3 separate regions of the Homo sapiens genome follow, and regions 1 and 2 are each linked to region 3. The links are contacts of gene promoters, found by promoter capture Hi-C in blood cells and fetal thymus (Javierre and others, 2016). All regions are on one chromosome and are shown on one strand. Each heading gives the region's core, a stretch centred on a gene start or on the middle of the fragment in contact. The rest is flanking DNA. Distances are from core to core; before and after follow the strand shown.

Region 1 (2,898 bases), core at 67-2,566, 240 kb before region 3:
CTCAATCTCTTGACCTCATGATCCGCCTGCCTCAGCCTCCCAAAGTGCTGGGATTATAGGTGTGAGCTGTTGCACCCGGCCCCCATTCCATATTTTAATGAGAATATCTTTTGGTTAGTTATAGAGGTAAATACCTGGATTTACAATGTGTAACTACAGATTCATCATCCTATAATAAAGTAACTCTTTTTGCATAAACTTTTGATAAGTTATTTTTGTCCTTATAATTTTATGTGTGAAGTCTTTACGGTCAGAGGACATTGACAAAATATTTTAGATTGAAAGCCTGTTCTCCTTGATGATTCAGTATAACTTCTTTTGACTGCGCTTTTAGTTCTTGCAAAATAGATCTTGTTTAGATGAGATTCCAGCATGACTCCTTTGTAATTTTTCATATTTTTGCTATTACATCTCAACTCTTGAAGAGCTATTTCTGTGAAAACCAAACATGCAGTCAAGGCACATTCCACGTGTGGCTGATGGGGTTATCATAGTTACAAATCATATTTATCCACAGTGATAATTATCTTCCTTAGCGTTTTGTTCTACTTCAGAGCTCATTTGTGGGCCTTACCACCTGTTTCTTACATATGGGGAAAGAGTCTCTTATTCTCTTTTGGAATATAGATCTAAGAGTAGATTTATATCAGGATTTGAAAGATGAATCTTTTTCAAGGATGTTTTTCCTCTGGACCGTGGCATTGTGTAAGAAATTTCCCTACTCATCCCATCCCTGGGGCACATTAATTTGGAGATGATGTTAAATGTGTCAGAGTGTGGCACAAATCTCAACTGGCAGATAAAGCCTAGTATTGAATTGTTTTCAGTTCAGAAACGTGGCTGGCTGACTTTGACCCTGAATGTGTAAATTATCTTTGCAGCAATAAGAACTTGAAGTAGCTTTGATAGCTAATCATAGTATGATAACTCAGCCAGAAGAATTCACTAAGAGCAGTTTGTGTGTCTTCCATCTAATGTAAAGGTTAGTAATGTAAGTCATATTCTTGGTGCCTTTAGACCTAGTTATGCAGAGAGACATCACATTGACATTCAGTAATTCTTACTCTTAACAGTTCCTTAACTCTAAAATCATCTTTTTCCTTACCTTTCCCTAGTTCTAGAACAGCAAAATATTTTACTTAGATTCTATCATTAATTAATATACTCGTTTGAATTTTTCTCTTCTAAAAAATGTAGGCCAGGCATGGTGGCTTTACACCTGTAATCCCAGGACTTTGGGAGGTCGAGGCGGGCGGATCACCTGAGGTCTGGAGTCCGAGACCAGTCTGGCCAATGTGGCGAAACCCACCCCGTCTCTACTAAAAATACAAAAATTAGCTGGGTGTGGTGGTGTGCGCCATAGTCCCAGCTACTCTGGAGGCTGAGGCAGGAGAATCACTTGAACCCGGGAGGCAGAGGTTGCAGTGAGCCAAGATCACGTCACTGTATTCCAGCTTGGGTGACAGAGCAAGACTCTGTCTCAAAAAAAAAAAAAAAAAAGTAAAATTATTTTGGCCTTACCATGCTTGGTTTCTTTGTCTTTGTTTTTTCATTCACTTTATGTTTGGGGAGGAGAATGGAGTGTCAGTGATTTCAGCAAAAAGTTGGGGTACCAGTTCATAATAAATTAGTGTCTAAGATTAATGTTACAGCTGATATTCAAAGTACCAAATACGTTATTGTTCTGATTATTCTGGTCCTTAAATTTGTCTCTTTCCTGGAGACGTGGTAAACAATAATGATGATTCTAATAATGACCATTTATTGAATGAGCACTATGTGTCAGACATTGTACTGGTGATGTGGTTTGGCTGTGTGTCCCTACCCAAATCTCATCTCAAATTGTAATCCCCACGTGTTGAGGGAGGGACCTGATGGGAGGTGATTGGATCATGAGGATGGTTTACCCCATGCTGTCCTCCTGATAGCGAGGGAGTTCTCATGAGATCTAATGGTTTAAAAGTGTTTGGCAGTTTCACCCTTGCACCCATGTCTCTCTCTGTCTCTCCTGCTGTCATGTGAAGAAGAGGTCCTTGCCTCCCCTTGGCCTTCCACCGTGATTATAAGTTTCCTGGCCGGGTGCAGTGGCTCACACCTGTAATCCCAGCACTTTGAGAGACCAACGCGGGCAGATCACTTGAGGTCAGGAGTTCAAGACCAGTCTGGCCAACATGGCGAAACCTGTCTCTACTGAAAAAACAAAAATTAGCCGGGCGGGTGGCGCACACCTGTAATCTCAGCTGTTCGGGAAGCTGAGGCAGGAGAATCGATTGAACCTGACAGATGGAGGTTACAGTGAGCCAAGATTGTGCCACTGCACTTCAGCCTGTGTAACAGAGTGAGACTCTCTCAAAAAATAATGATAATAGTAAGTTTCCTAAGGCTTCCCCAGCCATGCAGAACTGTGAGTCAATTAAACCTTTTTTCTTCATAAATTGCTCAGTCTCAGGTAGTTCTTTATAGCAGTGTGAAAATGGACTAATGCAATTGGGCAATGTCTGACAGTTTGCAAATACCATCTCATTTGTTTTTAATAGAAACCTCCTGCTGAGAGTGGTGGCTCACGCCTGTAATCCCAGCTCTTTGGGAGGCCGAGGCAGGCAGATCACATGGTCAGGAGTTTGAGACCAGCCTGACCAACATGATGAAACCTGTCTCTACTAAAAATAGAAAAATTAGCTGGGTGTGGTGGTACGCGCCTGTAATCCCAGCTACTTAGGAGACTGAGGCAGGAGAATCACTTGAACGTGGGAGGCAGAGGTTGCAGTGAGCCCAGATTGAACCACTGCACTCCAGCCTGGGCAACAAAGTGAGACTCCGTCTCAAAAAAAAAAAAAAAAAAAATCTAATACTAGCCATGAGGAAAGATAATCACTCTCAGATAGTAAAGCATTTGCT
Region 2 (3,156 bases), core at 329-2,828, 220 kb before region 3:
ATACTTAAAAGGAACAGGGGAGAGCTACAGTGCTTTTGAATTTCAGAGAGGCCTCTTATTTGTGCCTCAAGAATAGTTTGTATAAATGTTATATTTCAAGCCACACAGTACTTAAAACCATCACACTGTTTAGTTTATCTAGTTGGGTAGAAGAGGGGGCAAGAGAACAAAGCAGTATTAAATTAGGGCAGCAGCATCAGGGACAGGCTGATGTGAGAGCACCTTCTTTCTTGGGATGGGTAGAGTATAATTGTCCCTTTGCCTATCGTCAGATTTGGGTGGCCCAGTTGCTTTAAATTTTGAAAACATGGGAGTATTAACGCAAAGAAGAGCCAACATTAGTTCAGAATAGCTGAATTCATCATTCTTTTGGAACCAGTTTTGCTACTGTATAATGATAATAGCTCTTCAGCATTCATCTAGTGAGTGATAAAGATAAGTGATGATCCACAAGAAAGTTTACCTTTGACTTGTGGGTGCTCACGGACTGCAGAATGCAGATGTTCGTAGATCAGCCGTACTGTAATTTTCAAGGATTTAATATGCAATACATTCCTATATTAAGATGTTGAAACATTAAAATATTAATAATTTGCAATGATTTTTAAATACTTTAAACAGGCTCTTCCACTGGTGAGATTGTTTTTCCAAGCAGAGTTAGCTAGTTTAAATTCTTTCGTTGTGGCTGGGTGCAGTGACTCACGCTTGTAATCCCAGCATTTTGGGAGTCTGAGGCGAGCAGATCACCTGAAGTCAGGAGTTCGAGACCAGCCTGGCCAACATGGCAAAACCCTGTGTCTACTAAAAATAAGAAAATTAGCCTAGTGTGGTGGTGTGCGCCTGTAATCCCAGCTGCTAGGGAGGCTGAGGCAGGAGAATCGCTTGAACCTCGGAGGCAGAGGTTGAGCCAAGATCACACCACTGCACTCCAGCCTGGGCAACAGAGCAAGACTCCCATCTAAAAAAAAAAAAAATTGTTTTGTTGTATTCTCAGTTGTCTATTTCAGGTCTAGGCAGGCAAGAAAACTTTGTCAGGTACACTGGTGTCTTCCAAAATGTGCATCGTACCCTCTATTACTCAGTGTCATTAATCACATCCATTCCTTTCCCACCCTGTCTTGGAATAGGACATTAACTCTTCAACGATCTGCCCCCTAAATAAAACCTGCTTTCTTGGGCCATAGTAAACAACACGTAATTCTTTGCGAGAAAAGCAAAATAGTGATAATTATAATTTTTTTTTTTGGAACGGAGTCTCGCACTGTCACCCGGGCTGGAGAACAATGAATGGCGTGATTTCGGCTCACGGCAACCTACACCTCCCAGGTTCAAGCGATTCTCCTGCCTCTGCCTCCTGAGTAGCTGGGATTACGGGCGCCTGCCACCACACCCGGCTAATTTTTTGGTATTTTTTTAGTAGAGATGGGGTTTCACTATGTTGGCCAGGCTGGTCTCAAATGCCTGACCTCATGATCCAGCTGCCTTGGCTTCCCAGAGTGCTGGGATTACAGGCGTGAGCCAACTTTTAAAAATTAAAAAAATTTTTAAAAACCAACTTTTTAAATTTTCAAAAACCAATTTTAAAAACCAATTTTTAAAAAGCCAACTTTTAAAAATTTAATATTGGAGCATAATAGAATTCAGCAATATAAGATTTGATTGGGAATAAGAAATAACATCTCTTTTAAAAATGACTACAGCCCTCTTAACAATTTTACTCTTAACCAATTTTGGGGTACCAGTTTACTAATTGATCAAATTCCAGATTGGAAATTAGTCATCATTTGATTAACCAGAGTTAAGCCTCTTGAATCAAATTCTCTAATTTATTATCTCCCATCTGATCTAAATTCTTTTTTAGGGGATAAATTGCCAAAACGCTTTCAGAATGCCCAGTACTAGAAATCTAAGCTATTCAATTCAGTCTCTTCTCTGTTTTCAGGCTCCTTTCCTGACCCTTTGGAGAACCTAATATATTTAGCTAAAAATTTTTCTTTGGGGCCTCACCTAATAAAGGTAAATAGAAAACTGATAGCTATCACATAACATACATATTGGTTAATAATTGCAACCAAAAGTAAATTAATAATTTTGAGCTATTTATATTAGCTCTGCCAAAATTACATCATTAAATTTGGCCTTATGAAGCATTGCTGACTGTAGTAAAAACAAGTGTGAGCAAAGTCTTCATATGCACTGAGTCTGGTTTCAGTTCCACGTAATACTGACTTGGCAAGTGTGGAAATTCTCATGTCATCATTACCAAAAAAAAGTGAGTTCACACAGGGATTTCTGATCAAGTGACCCATTACTGCGGGAAAAAACCACACATACAAAAGCCTTTGACCCCAGTAATTTTGTATTGGTATATTTACCCTGATCTTAAACTGCAAGGAATGTCCGCAATTAGAGTTTTTCTTTGTTTTCTAAGTCTGAAACTTGATAATCCATTTCTGCCTTCCCATGACGAGTGGACATTCCTCCAGCCAGTGGTGAGTTCCTCTTTCCTTCGCTCTCAGCAAGAGCATGGGTTGCCCTCCCATCTCGTAAGCAGAGCCTACCACAAACGCAGCTCAAATCTCAGTTTCCAGCCCTGCTTACTCACTCGCTTGTTCCTGAATCCCCACATTACCCATCATGGCATCTTACTCTGTAGACTTCACATGTGAACTTTGCCCTCGCCGGTGGAAGGGGTACAGTCCAGATGGGAGATGAAATCCAAATGCTCCACCAAAGGGCTTTGGTTTGTTCTGGGGAGCCCTGGTGCTGCCGAAGCCTCTTGGGAAGGAAGGAGGGAAGAGGAGAAGAAAAGATACTAAGTTTGGTTTTCATTAAAAATTTTTCCAGGTTTTCTTTAAACTGATAGGTTCAGGGTCTTTTTCATACAACAGTCTACTTTTAGAGCTTTTGTTCGTTTGTTGTGTCATGGGAATTTATAAGGGATGGAAGGAAAAGGGGGACAAGGAATGGTCTAATTTCGGTCAGTAGAAGAATACCTGAAACCTGTTTAAATTTATTTGGAACTAATGACTTCTACTTTTAGTATCCATAAAAGACTTCCCTTGGAGCACAAAGAAGTTAATAATCTGTGTATATTGTCACTTCATGCTCTTCTTAAGCGCTGTGTGTTGGGGCACTGCTCTAGGTGTGGTGAAA
Region 3 (3,206 bases), core at 707-3,206:
AAAAATTTGGCGTGGTAGCACATGCTTCTAGTCCCAGCTACTTGGAAGGCTGAGGCAGGAGGATCCCTTTAGCCCAGAAACTGGAGGCTACAGTGAGCTATGACTGTGCCACTGCACTCTAGCCCAGGCAACAGAGCAAGACTCTATCTCTAAAAATTAAATAAATAAAATATAAATCTGGAAAAAGAACATAAATATTGGATAACAGCAATTGACATGCGTGTTTTAATGGAAGATTGTTTTAATGGAAGATTTAAGTGGTTATCATTTATAAGTTTCCAGGATGGAATAGATTGTTGCATCCTAGCTCCTGTCAGGAGTAGAGCTTCACTGGTTTCACAGGTAGGGTATGAGGTGCTGTGTAAAGCTAGAAGCTTCTTTTGGAAGTAATTTTCAGACAGAGAATACTAATGGAGAAATTTCAGACTGAGGGAAAGGGCCTGTGAGAGAGGCCTCAGAATTAGAGCTCCAAAGGCAGATTCGAGGATTTCAGAACTCAGTGCTGAAAACACCAAACTGCTGAAAGAGGTGGCCACAGTACAACCATTTTGATGAGAAGTTGAACAGGGTGACCATGCCTCTTTGGAGAAATAATCCCCTAGGTCTGGAGGCGGCCCAGGATCCTGAAGGTGAGTACCAGTGCTGGTGGAAAATAAGGAGCATTCAAAGTGCATTAAGAGCCACTCCGGGGTCTTTAACTTGTTAACATGGAAAACAATAGCAAAGTACTGCTGGGGCCCCCTGCTGTGTGTATAGAATATACCGGAAGACTAAGACATGGAGATAGCAGCTGGGAGCTACCGCAGAGATTCAGACTTGAGGTGAAGGGCTGGCCTTAGGGGGGCACGTGGGTGTGTAGGAAGAACTGCTCAGCAGGCCTTAGGGATACATTTGTTGTGCAGGTGCAGAGAGGACACAGGCATGGCTGGGGCGGGAGTTCAGGATGAGAACCCTGGGACAGGCTGTAAGATGATCGAGCCAGGGGTGTGTGTGTGTGTGTGTGTGTGTGTGTGTGTGTGTGTGTGTGTAGAGGTATAATGACATACTGTAAAATGCAAGATATGAAGTGTAGAATGAGTTTTGATACATTTCTACATCTGTGTAACCACCCCCCACAACCTCAGTTTTTTTTAATACATATGTTTCTTTTTAAGTTTGAGTTTCCCGTGCCTGCAGAGTCTAAGTTTAAACAGCCTCACAGACAAGAAGCTATATGCACCTGAAGTGAACGGGAACACGGGCTGCAACAGTAGATCGTAAAGTTATTTGGAGCGAAGGAGGTAGAAGTGTTGTGAGCAAATGAAGACAGGTGCAGGAAGGGATAAACGGAGAACAGAAAGTTCCAACCTTTGAGATTTTTGAAGTGCTTGTGCCCCAACACTGAGGATCTTCTTTGCCGTATATAGGGCAACTCTGATTTACCCTATAAATTTCTCAGGCCTTCCACCTCATATTTAATTCTCTTAAGCGAGAAAAAAAATTTTTTTCTGACTTGGCTGCTGCCAAGGTCGGCTCTATCAAATCTGGTGCGTCTCTCTGGGGGAAAGGGAGCTAGAAGACCCCATAGGGTGGTTTGCACCTCCTCTAAGCATGCAAGCACGGCTCTGGTCTTGACCTGGGGAGCCCAGCTTCCTCGGTGCACCGTGCTTTGGCAACCGGGTCTTGGCGCCTCCGAGAGCGGGGCGAGGGGTGCCACGCGATTCCCAGGCCGCTCTGTATCTCTCGGTGCGCTTGCAGGGACCCTGCAGCAAAGCCCTGGATGCTTGCAGCCGGTGCAAGTTTGCAAGCAGCTGGAGAGCGGTGGCTGGAGTCGGGGGGCGGTGGGCGTGGCCACGCTCCCTCCCAGGCAGTCCCGGGAATGTTCTGAAAAGTATCCGAAAGTTCTGAGTCGCGCGCGCGCCAAAAGAAAAGGCACAACCCCCCACCACTCCGGGCGTGGCGTGCCCAGACCTCGCCACTCCAGCTGCGCCTCCGGCTGCAGCGCACACGTCTCCTGCGCCTCCTCCTCCGGAGCGTCGCTGTCCGTCGGGTTCATCCCTCGCAGCAGTCTCCAGGCGAGAGAGGGGGCCAGAGTGCTCGCACTTCTCCTAGGGGCACCATGCCCAACGACGAGGCATTCAGCAAGCCCTCTACACCGTCGGAAGCCCCTCACGCCCCCGGGGTACCGCCGCAGGGCAGAGCCGGGGGCTTTGGCAAAGCGTCTGGGGCGCTAGTGGGGGCGGCCAGCGGCTCGAGCGCCGGGGGCAGCAGCAGAGGAGGCGGCTCCGGCTCCGGGGCGTCGGACCTGGGTGCCGGGAGCAAGAAGTCCCCGCGGCTGCCCAAGTGCGCACGCTGCAGGAACCACGGCTACGCCTCGCCGCTCAAGGGCCACAAGCGCTTCTGCATGTGGCGCGACTGCCAGTGCAAGAAGTGCAACCTGATCGCCGAGAGGCAGCGCGTGATGGCCGCGCAGGTGGGTGCGGGCGTGCGGGAGCCCGGGTTCAGCCTTAGTTTTTTTTTTTTTTTTTTTTTTTAGATGGAGTCTCGCTCGGTTGCCCAGGCTGCAGTGTAGTGGCGCGATCTTGGCTCACTGCAACCTCCGCTTCCCGGGTTCAAGCAATTCTCCTGCCTCAGCCTCCCAAGTAGCTGGGACTACAGGCGCACACCACCATGCCCGGCTAATTTTTGTATTTTTAGTAGAGACGGGGGTTTCACCATATTGGTCAGGCCGGTCTCGAGCTCCTGACCTCAGGTGATCCACCCGCCTCGGCCTCCCAAAGTGCTGGGATTACAGGCGTGGGCCACCGCTCCCGGCGGGGCCCGAGTTTCTTGAATGAAGTCCCCCCAGCATGGCCGTTGCCATGCGGGTCCTGGGTTGTGGAGAGATGCGGCGGTACTTGCCGACAGCGGCGGCGCTTGGGGTCCTGGGCTCCCGGCCACGCTACATCGCCGGTCTGGGAGCGCCGGAGACGCGTCTGATCCCGCCCGCCGGGCAGAGTTGCGGGCTTCGCTCGGCTCGGGGTTCCCCACGATCTCTCACCCTGTGTTTCGGCGGAGTTGCGGGGGTTCCCTCTGCTCCCGGGTCCCTGAGATCCCTGATCCCGCTCTCAGGGCAGGGAATTCCGGGGTTCGCCCCTCTGGGCTTCCCCGCGATCCCAGAGCCCGCGTTCCAACAGAATTGGGAGGGTTTATTGCGCTAGAGGAGTCTTCAGGATCTTCGCTCCCGC

What was found. Contacts are between HindIII fragments. The CHiCAGO score rates a contact against its expected background, and 5 or more counts as called.
Region 1: a fragment that was not itself captured here is called in contact with the fragment with the promoter of DMRT1 in region 3 in 1 of 17 cell types (monocytes); the score reaches 5.5 in monocytes.
Region 2: a contact is called between a fragment that was not itself captured here and the fragment with the promoter of DMRT1 in region 3, in 3 of 17 cell types (total B cells, fetal thymus and total CD8 T cells). The highest score is 5.4, in total B cells.

What each region holds. Positions count from the first base shown.
Region 1 is chr9:602,477-605,374 of GRCh38, forward strand. All of the region lies in intron 1 of KANK1 (KN motif and ankyrin repeat domains 1), which reads left to right. Among named protein-coding and RNA genes, the nearest start is that of KANK1-AS1, 82 kb to the right of the region's middle. The HindIII fragment of the contact is 5,861 bases long and covers 1-2,898 here.
Region 2 is chr9:619,172-622,327 of GRCh38, forward strand. The region is part of intron 1 of KANK1 (KN motif and ankyrin repeat domains 1); the gene reads left to right. Among named protein-coding and RNA genes, the nearest start is that of KANK1-AS1, 65 kb to the right of the region's middle. RefSeq lists an enhancer at 2,166-3,156. The HindIII fragment of the contact is 3,244 bases long and covers 1-3,156 here.
Region 3 is chr9:839,741-842,946 of GRCh38, forward strand. It overlaps DMRT1 (doublesex and mab-3 related transcription factor 1), which reads left to right and starts at 1,957. Exons shown (of 5, transcript NM_021951.3): 1 at 1,957-2,452. The coding sequence starts at 2,099. The HindIII fragment of the contact is 3,804 bases long and covers 373-3,206 here.